Regions from separate parts of the Homo sapiens genome. Here region 2 is linked to region 1. The links are contacts of gene promoters, found by promoter capture Hi-C in blood cells and fetal thymus (Javierre and others, 2016). All regions are on one chromosome and are shown on one strand. The core of a region is centred on a gene start or on the middle of the fragment in contact, and the rest is flanking DNA. Distances in the headings are between cores, read along the strand shown.

The links. Contacts are between HindIII fragments. The CHiCAGO score rates a contact against its expected background, and 5 or more counts as called.
Region 2: a fragment that was not itself captured here is called in contact with the fragment with the promoter of PCK2 in region 1 in 2 of 17 cell types (total B cells and neutrophils); the score reaches 5.1 in total B cells.

What each region holds. Positions count from the first base shown.
Region 1 is chr14:24,092,793-24,097,017 of GRCh38, forward strand. It overlaps PCK2 (phosphoenolpyruvate carboxykinase 2, mitochondrial), which reads left to right and starts at 1,519. Exons shown (of 10, transcript NM_004563.4): 1 at 1,519-1,642; 2 at 4,100-4,225. The coding sequence starts at 1,614. All of the region lies in intron 1 of NRL (neural retina leucine zipper), which reads right to left. RefSeq lists a silencer at 1,285-1,534 and enhancers at 1,542-2,191, 1,845-1,914. The HindIII fragment of the contact is 4,962 bases long and covers 1-4,021 here.
Region 2 is chr14:24,316,208-24,320,317 of GRCh38, forward strand. It overlaps LTB4R (leukotriene B4 receptor), which reads left to right. Exons shown (of 2, transcript NM_001143919.3): 2 at 1-1,829. The coding sequence ends at 503. It overlaps ADCY4 (adenylate cyclase 4), which reads right to left. Exons shown (of 25, transcript NM_001198568.2): 21 at 3,535-3,681; 22 at 3,122-3,229; 23 at 2,891-3,005; 24 at 2,447-2,571; 25 at 2,152-2,361. The coding sequence ends at 2,209. Among named protein-coding and RNA genes, the nearest start is that of LTB4R, 6.8 kb to the left of the region's middle. RefSeq lists an enhancer at 1-373. The HindIII fragment of the contact is 5,052 bases long and covers 1-3,856 here.

The DNA.
Region 1 (4,225 bases), core at 269-2,768:
ATTAGCTTGAGCAAGAGAAGAAATGCATCAATTCCTGTAACTGAAATCAGGAATCCATTGCTCGCCATCTCCCTGCTCTGCTTCCTCTAGGCTGGCTTCTGTCTCAGCCAGGTTCCTGCTTTGCAGTGCCAAGCTAACACTCAGCAGCTCCAGGCTTATATTCTACCAGCTCAGCAACTCAGCAGAAAGAGAGCTAACTTCCAAAGTTTTAGAAAAAGTCCCAGAGAGGGATCTCATGCCCATCCTTGAACATCCTTGATTGCTGTGGCCAGAGTGAGGAACACAAAAGTTGGCTAAGCTGCAAGCCTACCCCCAAGAGGGGTGACATCAGACCCACATGACAATACAGACTGAGGAGATGGTTCCCCAAAAGAAAATCAGGGTGCTATTACCAGAAAAGGCGAGTGGATGCTGAGCAGACACCCATCATAGATATGCTGAGTTTGAGGTGCTATATAGCATTGTGGGTGATATCCAGTGGTCTCAGGTTGGAGAGAGATGTCCCAATGGAGGTATAGCTTGAGAAATCACCTGAGGACTTTATGATGGTAGTTGGGTGGGCAGATGAGTTTCCTCATTGGATTGTGGAGAGAAAGAATGACCAGGCCGGGCGTGGTGGCTCACGCCTGTAAATTCCAGCACTTTGGGAGGCCAAGGCAGGCGGATCACGAGGTCAGGAGTTGGAGACCAGCTTGGCCAGCATGGAGAAACCCCGTCTTTACAAAAAATACAAAAAATCAGCCGAGTGTGGTGGCAGGCGCCTGTAATTCCAGCTACTCTGCAGGTTGAGACAGGAGAATTGCTTGAACCCGGGAGGCGGAGTGTGCAGTGAGCCGAGATCGCGCCACTGCACGCACTCCAGCCTGGGTGACAGAGTAAGACTCCGTCAGGGGAAGAGGGGATGTGCCGGGGGAGGAGAATGACCAGATCAGAGGACCAAGGAAGAGACCCAGGGGTAGAGAGACTCCACCATTTCATGGCAAGGCAGAAAGGAGCCTTGATCAGGAGGAGAAACGGGGATTTAGGAGTTGGGGACTAAGTGGACCTTAGCATTGGGCACTTGGACTACAGAAAGGCCCAGGACTCAGGGTGTCGCGTCCCCAGGAGGAGGAACTGGAAAGGCAATGCCCAACCCCCTAACTTCTAGACGTCTGGCCCCTGTAGTCTCCCGCCCCTGGCCTCGCCCCTCGTTCCTAGCTTGTTTGCCACCTAGTGTCTCTCCCGGGAGCAAGAGTCCTCAAAGTTACATCATGTGCGGCTGGGAGGGCGGTGGCGGATGGGGGGCGGGGCCTCGAAGTCGGGGGCCGAAGAGTGGACCCAGTCCTCCAATGGGAGAGATGGGTTTGGCGGTTTGGAGGCAGGGGTTGGGGCGGCGGCTGGGCTGACCTGGAGCCTGGAGCCCCGGGGCCGAGGGAGCTGGCCTGCCAGCGGGGCGGAGGAAAGCTAGTGCCAGCCCTACCAGGTTCCGCCCCCGCGCCTGCCCCCCTCCTTTTTAAGCGCCTCCCGCCAGCCTCTGCTGTGGCTCGCTTCGCCGCGCTCCCTCCTTCCCCGCCTTCCATACCTCCCCGGCTCCGCTCGGTTCCTGGCCACCCCGCAGCCCCTGCCCAGGTGCCATGGCCGCATTGTACCGCCCTGGCCTGCGGTGAGTGACCCCCGGCCCGGGGCCCACCCGCACCTTCCGCTGCGCTCGCCCCCTCGGGGCTGCCAGTGGCGCTCTCCTGCTCTCAGCCTCCGCCAGGTTTCCCATCCTAGGCGGAGGCGGGCAGGGGCGACTGCTGTGGGTCCAGCCTCCCGCGCCGCGCGTCTCTTGGGAGGGCAGCCGGCCGGTGCTCCTCGTTTCCGCCTGCACCTCCCCTTCTCTGCCTCGCTCGCCTCTGACCGCGCGATCTCTATCTGCCACTCTCAGAACTTCCTCTCTCTCCTCGCTCCTCTCTGCTGAGCCAGGTCTCCGCATATCCTCCTTTCCTTCCCAGATACCTCCCTCGGACCTCTAACGGGCTCTCAGCCAGCGCCCCAGGGTACTTCGAGAGGCAGCAGGGCCCTGGGGACAAGGGTACGTGAGCCCCGGGAGACTAAGCTCAGAGCCCCCTAAAGAAGGTGGAAGGTTAAATATCCATTCCCGGCCTCTCCCGGACTGGAAGGACTGGAACCTGGCGGGAAGTCCAGAGCAGCCCGAGGGACCTGGGCCCAGGGGAGGGAGGCAAGCAAGGTGGGAGGAGGGCGCCAAGTTGCCTTCGTTTCTTACATAGCTGGCTTCTTCCTCCGTCCAGGCCTGGAGCCCCCAGGCTCGTCCTGTTTGTCTGCCTGTCCTCTTAGTCTCCTATTTATTCTCTGAGGCCTCTCTTCTCAGCTTTTGTCCCAGAGTCGGAAGTGACCCACATCTGTCGCACAGCCCGTTCCACTTGGGCAGCCCTTGTGGGTGGTCTCTGAAGGAAACGTCCCACTTAGAGGGCTGCAAGAGGGTGTGGGGGCTTCACAAGAGATAACGTGAGCCAGGCTCCAGGGAGAGAGAGGCTGTCCTCAAGACTGTGTGCTTGAAAACTGATGCTCACGGAGAACTTCCCTCTGAGGCAGGAACAGACCCAGGTCCCAGTAGCCCTCCTCCCCTGCCCCTGGGGCCACACTGATCATCTATCCTGCTTTAGCGGAAACCACCCCAGCTTCTACCCCAGACAGACTCAAGCTCCCGTATCCATGCTCTGAGCTTTCTTCCTTCCCCAGGCTAACACCCTCTGAGTCTGAGCTGCCAGCAAGCTGCTGTTCCACCCTCCCACCAACACCAAAGCTCTCTAGGCATGTGGCCTCTAGGAAGAAGAGCCAGGGGAAGCACGGGGTCACGTGGTCCTGGGTGTGGGGGCAGTTTCTGATGGGCGAGGCCTTGATAGAGGAGGAGAGTAACATCCCCTTCATGGTCTTTGCTCTCTCGGGTTTACTCCACCTTGAGTCCAGGCCAATCAGAGCAGACGTTGCTTCTCTGTCTCCCAGGGCCATGAGAGGACAGACAACAGGACGCTGACCTCCTGAGAATTAAGCCCATGAACCCCAGCCAGTGACACTCATTCCCCAGTGGTCAACCTTCCGCAGAGTTCAGAAATACTTACCCGAGGGCAACATTTTATGCAACCATTGTTGGTCCAAGTGGGCAGCAGCAGATCAGGGCCTGGAAGCCCAGCATCCAGTCACCTATTCTCTGTGCAAGAGCCCTCATCTAGAAACCTGGCACTGGAAAGACTGTGACCTTTGCTTGGGGCTTTCATAGTCTTACAGCATACACACCAGAAGGAAAGAATAAACACAGCTGCCATTTTAATTTATAAAAAACTATACTTGAAAATGGAAATAAAATGGATGAGGCTTCAAATACCAGACATATGAAATTGTCACCTGGGCCCAACTTCTTGTCTTGACACTTGGGCCAAAGGCCCCTACTCATTTCTTTTTTTTTTTTTTTTTTTTTTTTTTTTGAGACAGAGTCTTGCTCTGTCGCCCAGGTTGGAGTGCAGTGTCCCGATCTCGGCTCACTGCAACCTCCACCTCCCGGGTTCAAGCGATTCTCCTGCCTCAGCCTCCTGAGTAGCTGGGACTAGAGGCACACGCCACCACATCCGGCTAATTTTTATATTTTTAGTAGATGGGGTTTCACCATGTTGCCCAGTATGGTCTTGATCTCCTGACCTCATGATCCACCTGCCTCAGCCTCCCAAAGTGCTGGGATTACAGGCATGAGCCACCGTGCCCAGCCATCTCCCTACTTATTTCTAAACGTTGATTAAACAGTTAAACATGGGCATGGGCTACACAGGCAGTAACATCAGCATGCCTACATGTATACTTCCACACAGCCAGGCATGTGCCTTTTTTGCTCATTTGGCCATATCTGTCCCTCGCTGAGCAGGAGACACCCTCCTCAAGCCTCATAAAGGCTACAAGATACATGTGTCCTGAACACATCCCACACACCAACTGCAACCTGCTCTTCATGGTCCCTGCATGCAGACATGTTTTAGCAGGCTGCAGCCCAAGCTTTCTGTCTCTCCACCACCTGCCTTGTCCACTCTCGATGACAGCAACTAGCTCATTGCCTCTGTTTCTCCTATAGGCTTAACTGGCATGGGCTGAGCCCCTTGGGCTGGCCATCATGCCGTAGCATCCAGACCCTGCGAGTGCTTAGTGGAGATCTGGGCCAGCTTCCCACTGGCATTCGAGATTTTGTAGAGCACAGTGC
Region 2 (4,110 bases), core at 81-2,580, 220 kb after region 1:
CTGTCACGGGCTTCCTGCTGCCCTTCCTGGCTGTGGTGGCCAGCTACTCGGACATAGGGCGTCGGCTACAGGCCCGGCGCTTCCGCCGCAGCCGCCGCACCGGCCGCCTGGTGGTGCTCATCATCCTGACCTTCGCCGCCTTCTGGCTGCCCTACCACGTGGTGAACCTGGCTGAGGCGGGCCGCGCGCTGGCCGGCCAGGCCGCCGGGTTAGGGCTCGTGGGGAAGCGGCTGAGCCTGGCCCGCAACGTGCTCATCGCACTCGCCTTCCTGAGCAGCAGCGTGAACCCCGTGCTGTACGCGTGCGCCGGCGGCGGCCTGCTGCGCTCGGCGGGCGTGGGCTTCGTCGCCAAGCTGCTGGAGGGCACGGGCTCCGAGGCGTCCAGCACGCGCCGCGGGGGCAGCCTGGGCCAGACCGCTAGGAGCGGCCCCGCCGCTCTGGAGCCCGGCCCTTCCGAGAGCCTCACTGCCTCCAGCCCTCTCAAGTTAAACGAACTGAACTAGGCCTGGTGGAAGGAGGCGCACTTTCCTCCTGGCAGAATGCTAGCTCTGAGCCAGTTCAGTACCTGGAGGAGGAGCAGGGGCGTGGAGGGCGTGGAGGGCGTGGGAGCGTGGGAGGCGGGAGTGGAGTGGAAGAAGAGGGAGAGGTGGAGCAAAGTGAGGGCCGAGTGAGAGCGTGCTCCAGCCTGGCTCCCACAGGCAGCTTTAACCATTAAAACTGAAGTCTGAAATTTGGTCAACCTTGTGAGTGGGGTACATGTGCTGTGGGTATCGGGGTGCTCGTGGGCGCCCTGGTGGGGCCCCTCTCGGTAGTTGAGAGTCACGTCCTTTAGTTCCCCATGATTTACAATTTTGGAAGGGACACAAAGAAACATAGACTTCCCCCATCCCAGATGATTCCGAGTACATAGTCTGCAGATAATACTTAGCAAAACGCAGTCTACAGACTCCTAAAGCAGCTTGTCTAGGAAGACCACCCATGTGGGCTTATCACTCCAGGTTCTGTGACCCGGGACCTTCTGAGAAAACAGCACTGCTGTGAAATATCTTCCTTGAAGCCTGTGATAAGTCTCCTTGTTAGAATGACTCCAACTTCCTGCCAATAATCTTTGTCCTCTCCATAGGAGATGTTCTAGGGGATGCCTTCCTTCCCTCCATTTCACAAAGAGGCCAGACTTGAGGACTAAGTCATTAGATCTTATCCCTTAGAATTTTGCATATCAGCATCTGCTAACCTCCACAACACACCCTGGCACAGGGTGGGGCTGAGGGCCCCAGGAAACAAAGATTCCCAAAAGTGAGAGGGATGAGTCATTATTTCCTAGAGATGACTGTTGTTTTAGAGAACCTTGGTCCAACTCTGTTCTGACAAGGTTTTAGGAAGATGGCAACAACAGTGGCAGCAGTGTACTTTTTGGATCTTTCTCATAAAAAAACAAAAGAGCAAGTAAGAGAGGGAAACCAAATATCCACATGCAACATCCGCAACAAATCTAGTATGTCAAGGTTTGACATACTCCCATGGACCCCAAAGTATGAGCCAGTGAGAATGAGTCATCAATATCTCAAGACCCATATACCAGCATCTGTGCAGAAGGATGCAGAAGGAAGCAAAGGGATGTTGGATGGACCTAAGAAGAGGAGATCCCCAAGCTGTCTACAGATCCTTACTGGAAGGTATGGTGCACCAATTTGAGAACAGCAGCTGAAACTGGGAGGGACCTAACGGAGTATTTCCCAGTCCTCTCGCCCATTCTGTATGGTGAGCACATAATAGGTACTTATTTAGTGTTTGTCGAATTAATAAAGTTCAAATGACATTTCCCTGGAGATTCTTCCGGTATTTTTGAGTAGGGGGCAGGAAAGGGCAAATTTTTGTTTTGAGTCATGTGGCTAAATTCTTTATGCTTCCAAGGTGTACAAAATACTATAATCAAGTTGGCAGAGAGGCTGAGGGAGTTCTCTTCCTGAGCTTGTGAAAAAAATCACTCCCTTTCAAAATGCTTAGTCTCACATGCATGCATGTGTGCAGGCATGTGCACACACATTCACACACACACTCGCACTAAAATTGGCCTGGGAAGAAGAAGAATTCCCACTGAAGGGCAATGAGAAGGTGATCCCCAGCTATATCAGCAGCTTCAGACATCAATGGGCTCCAGACACCCCAGAGTCTCTTTATTGAGGTTCTTAGAAGGCGAGTGCAATCTCAGCCTAGGGTAGCTGAAGGAGGTCCAGTTCGTGTCAAGTCTGTGTTCAGGAAGTAGGTGCAGAGCTGCCCTTTGCCTTTCACCTTGATGACACCCCGGCTGTAGCAGGTGTAGCCCAGGGACTGTAGGGCCCATGCTGTCTCCTCAGTCACCTACAATTGGAGGGGGGCGAGGGAATATGGAGGTGGCCCTATTCTTAGTCCCCCTCCCCCTATGCCTCCAATGTGGTTCCCTCACTTGGATTTTGCCAAGGACTCCTGTACTCTCCATGCGGCTGGCCACGTTCACTGTGTTGCCCCAAATGTCATATTGCGGCTTCTGGGCCCCAATAACTCCAGCTACTACGGGTCCATGGTTCAACCCTAATGAGGGATGTGGTAATGACAGACTTGGAGAAGGAAGAGGGGAAGAGGAAGCCACAAGGAACTGGAAGGAAGGGAGAAGAGCCTGGGGGGCCCTAGAGGAGAGGAGGGGTCTCTAAGGGCTGGAGGAATGTAGCTTAAGAAAAAGAGTGGGAGAGCCTCGTACCTCCTTGCCCAGCACCTTCACACCCCATCCCAGGGAGTGAGTCAGGAAAGGGGCTTCAGGATGAACTGGGAGCAGCTAACAAAGGACTTGGAGTGGGGCAAGCTCAGGAAGGTGAGGAGGTACCAGACTGCTGCAGCAGGGGAAGTCTCTCACCCACTCGCAGGCGGAAGTTGTTGAATGAATGCTTGTTGATGACGTCCAGCTTAGACCCCAGGGCCACGGCAAATTCCACCATAGTGCCAAGGTGGCTGCAGCTCCGTTCAGCATCCTGGCAATGGGCCCGCCCACCAGGGTGGGCCAGTGAGGGCACAGGAATAAGTCCCACTAATAAGCCCATCAATGAGAGCCCAGAGGAGGATGGTAGGTAAGGAAGGGTTGCCGTACCTGTTGTGCATCCTGTCCAGAGGTGGCATTTAAGCCTGTGGCTGCCATGTAGGTGCTGCCGATGGTCTTGATCTTCTCCACCCCACTGAACTTGGGCTTGGAGAGCAGCTGTATATAGAGAAGAGTCCTGTCCCCAGTCTCTCTTACTCTCTCCATCACCTCTCCCAGAAGCCCAGCCCCAAGCCTTTGGAGTTAAAGGATCAGGCTGTGGGAGTGGAGATAGTGTCAGGAAGGAGAGGGTTGGTGGTGGGCAGTGTTGCTGGAGTGGGTAGATCTGGGGGATCAGAGGAGGTGAGGGAGTACTGTGGAGGGGAGGATTGACTTCATGGCCAGAAAAGCAAAGTGGAAGGAGGTACTGGTGGAAAATTCTAGAATCTAGGACATAGGGTCTGGGAGACTCTTGGAATTTTCACCTCATCAAAATCAGCAATTATCTCATTGAGCAGCCTCAGACACTCTAGGCCCTCATGATTGATGTTGGATTCAGAGTAGAACTCCTTGAAGTCTGGGACTGAGGCGAAGAGGACACAAACGCATTCATAGGACTGGTGGTAGAGATCCTGGGGGAACAGGAGACTGGAGTGAGGGGTGTGTGTCATGTTCCTCTCCCTTCTAGAGGTCTGCGTGGGGCCCTCCTCCCCATGTCCACACTCCTGGTCTCCCTGTTTAAGAAGAATTGGGAAGGAGGGAGAGGAGTAGGGCCAGGCTACCCCAGGGAAGTGACTTAGGAGTCAAAGCTTAGATCTCATTGTAATTCTAGAAGAGACAGAGGTTTGGCGTTAGGATCACCTCACAGCAACACGAAGGGAGTCACTCCTAGAACTGGGATCCTGTCAATGTGAATTATTTCTATATCCTATCTTATTGCTGAAAGGTGTTTAAGTCAATTAAGCCGGCTACAAAACCAAGGGTAAAATGTGTTTAAGTGTTTAAGTCAGTTAAGATAGGTACAAAATGAAAGATGAAGTAAGCAACAATAGGGACTATGA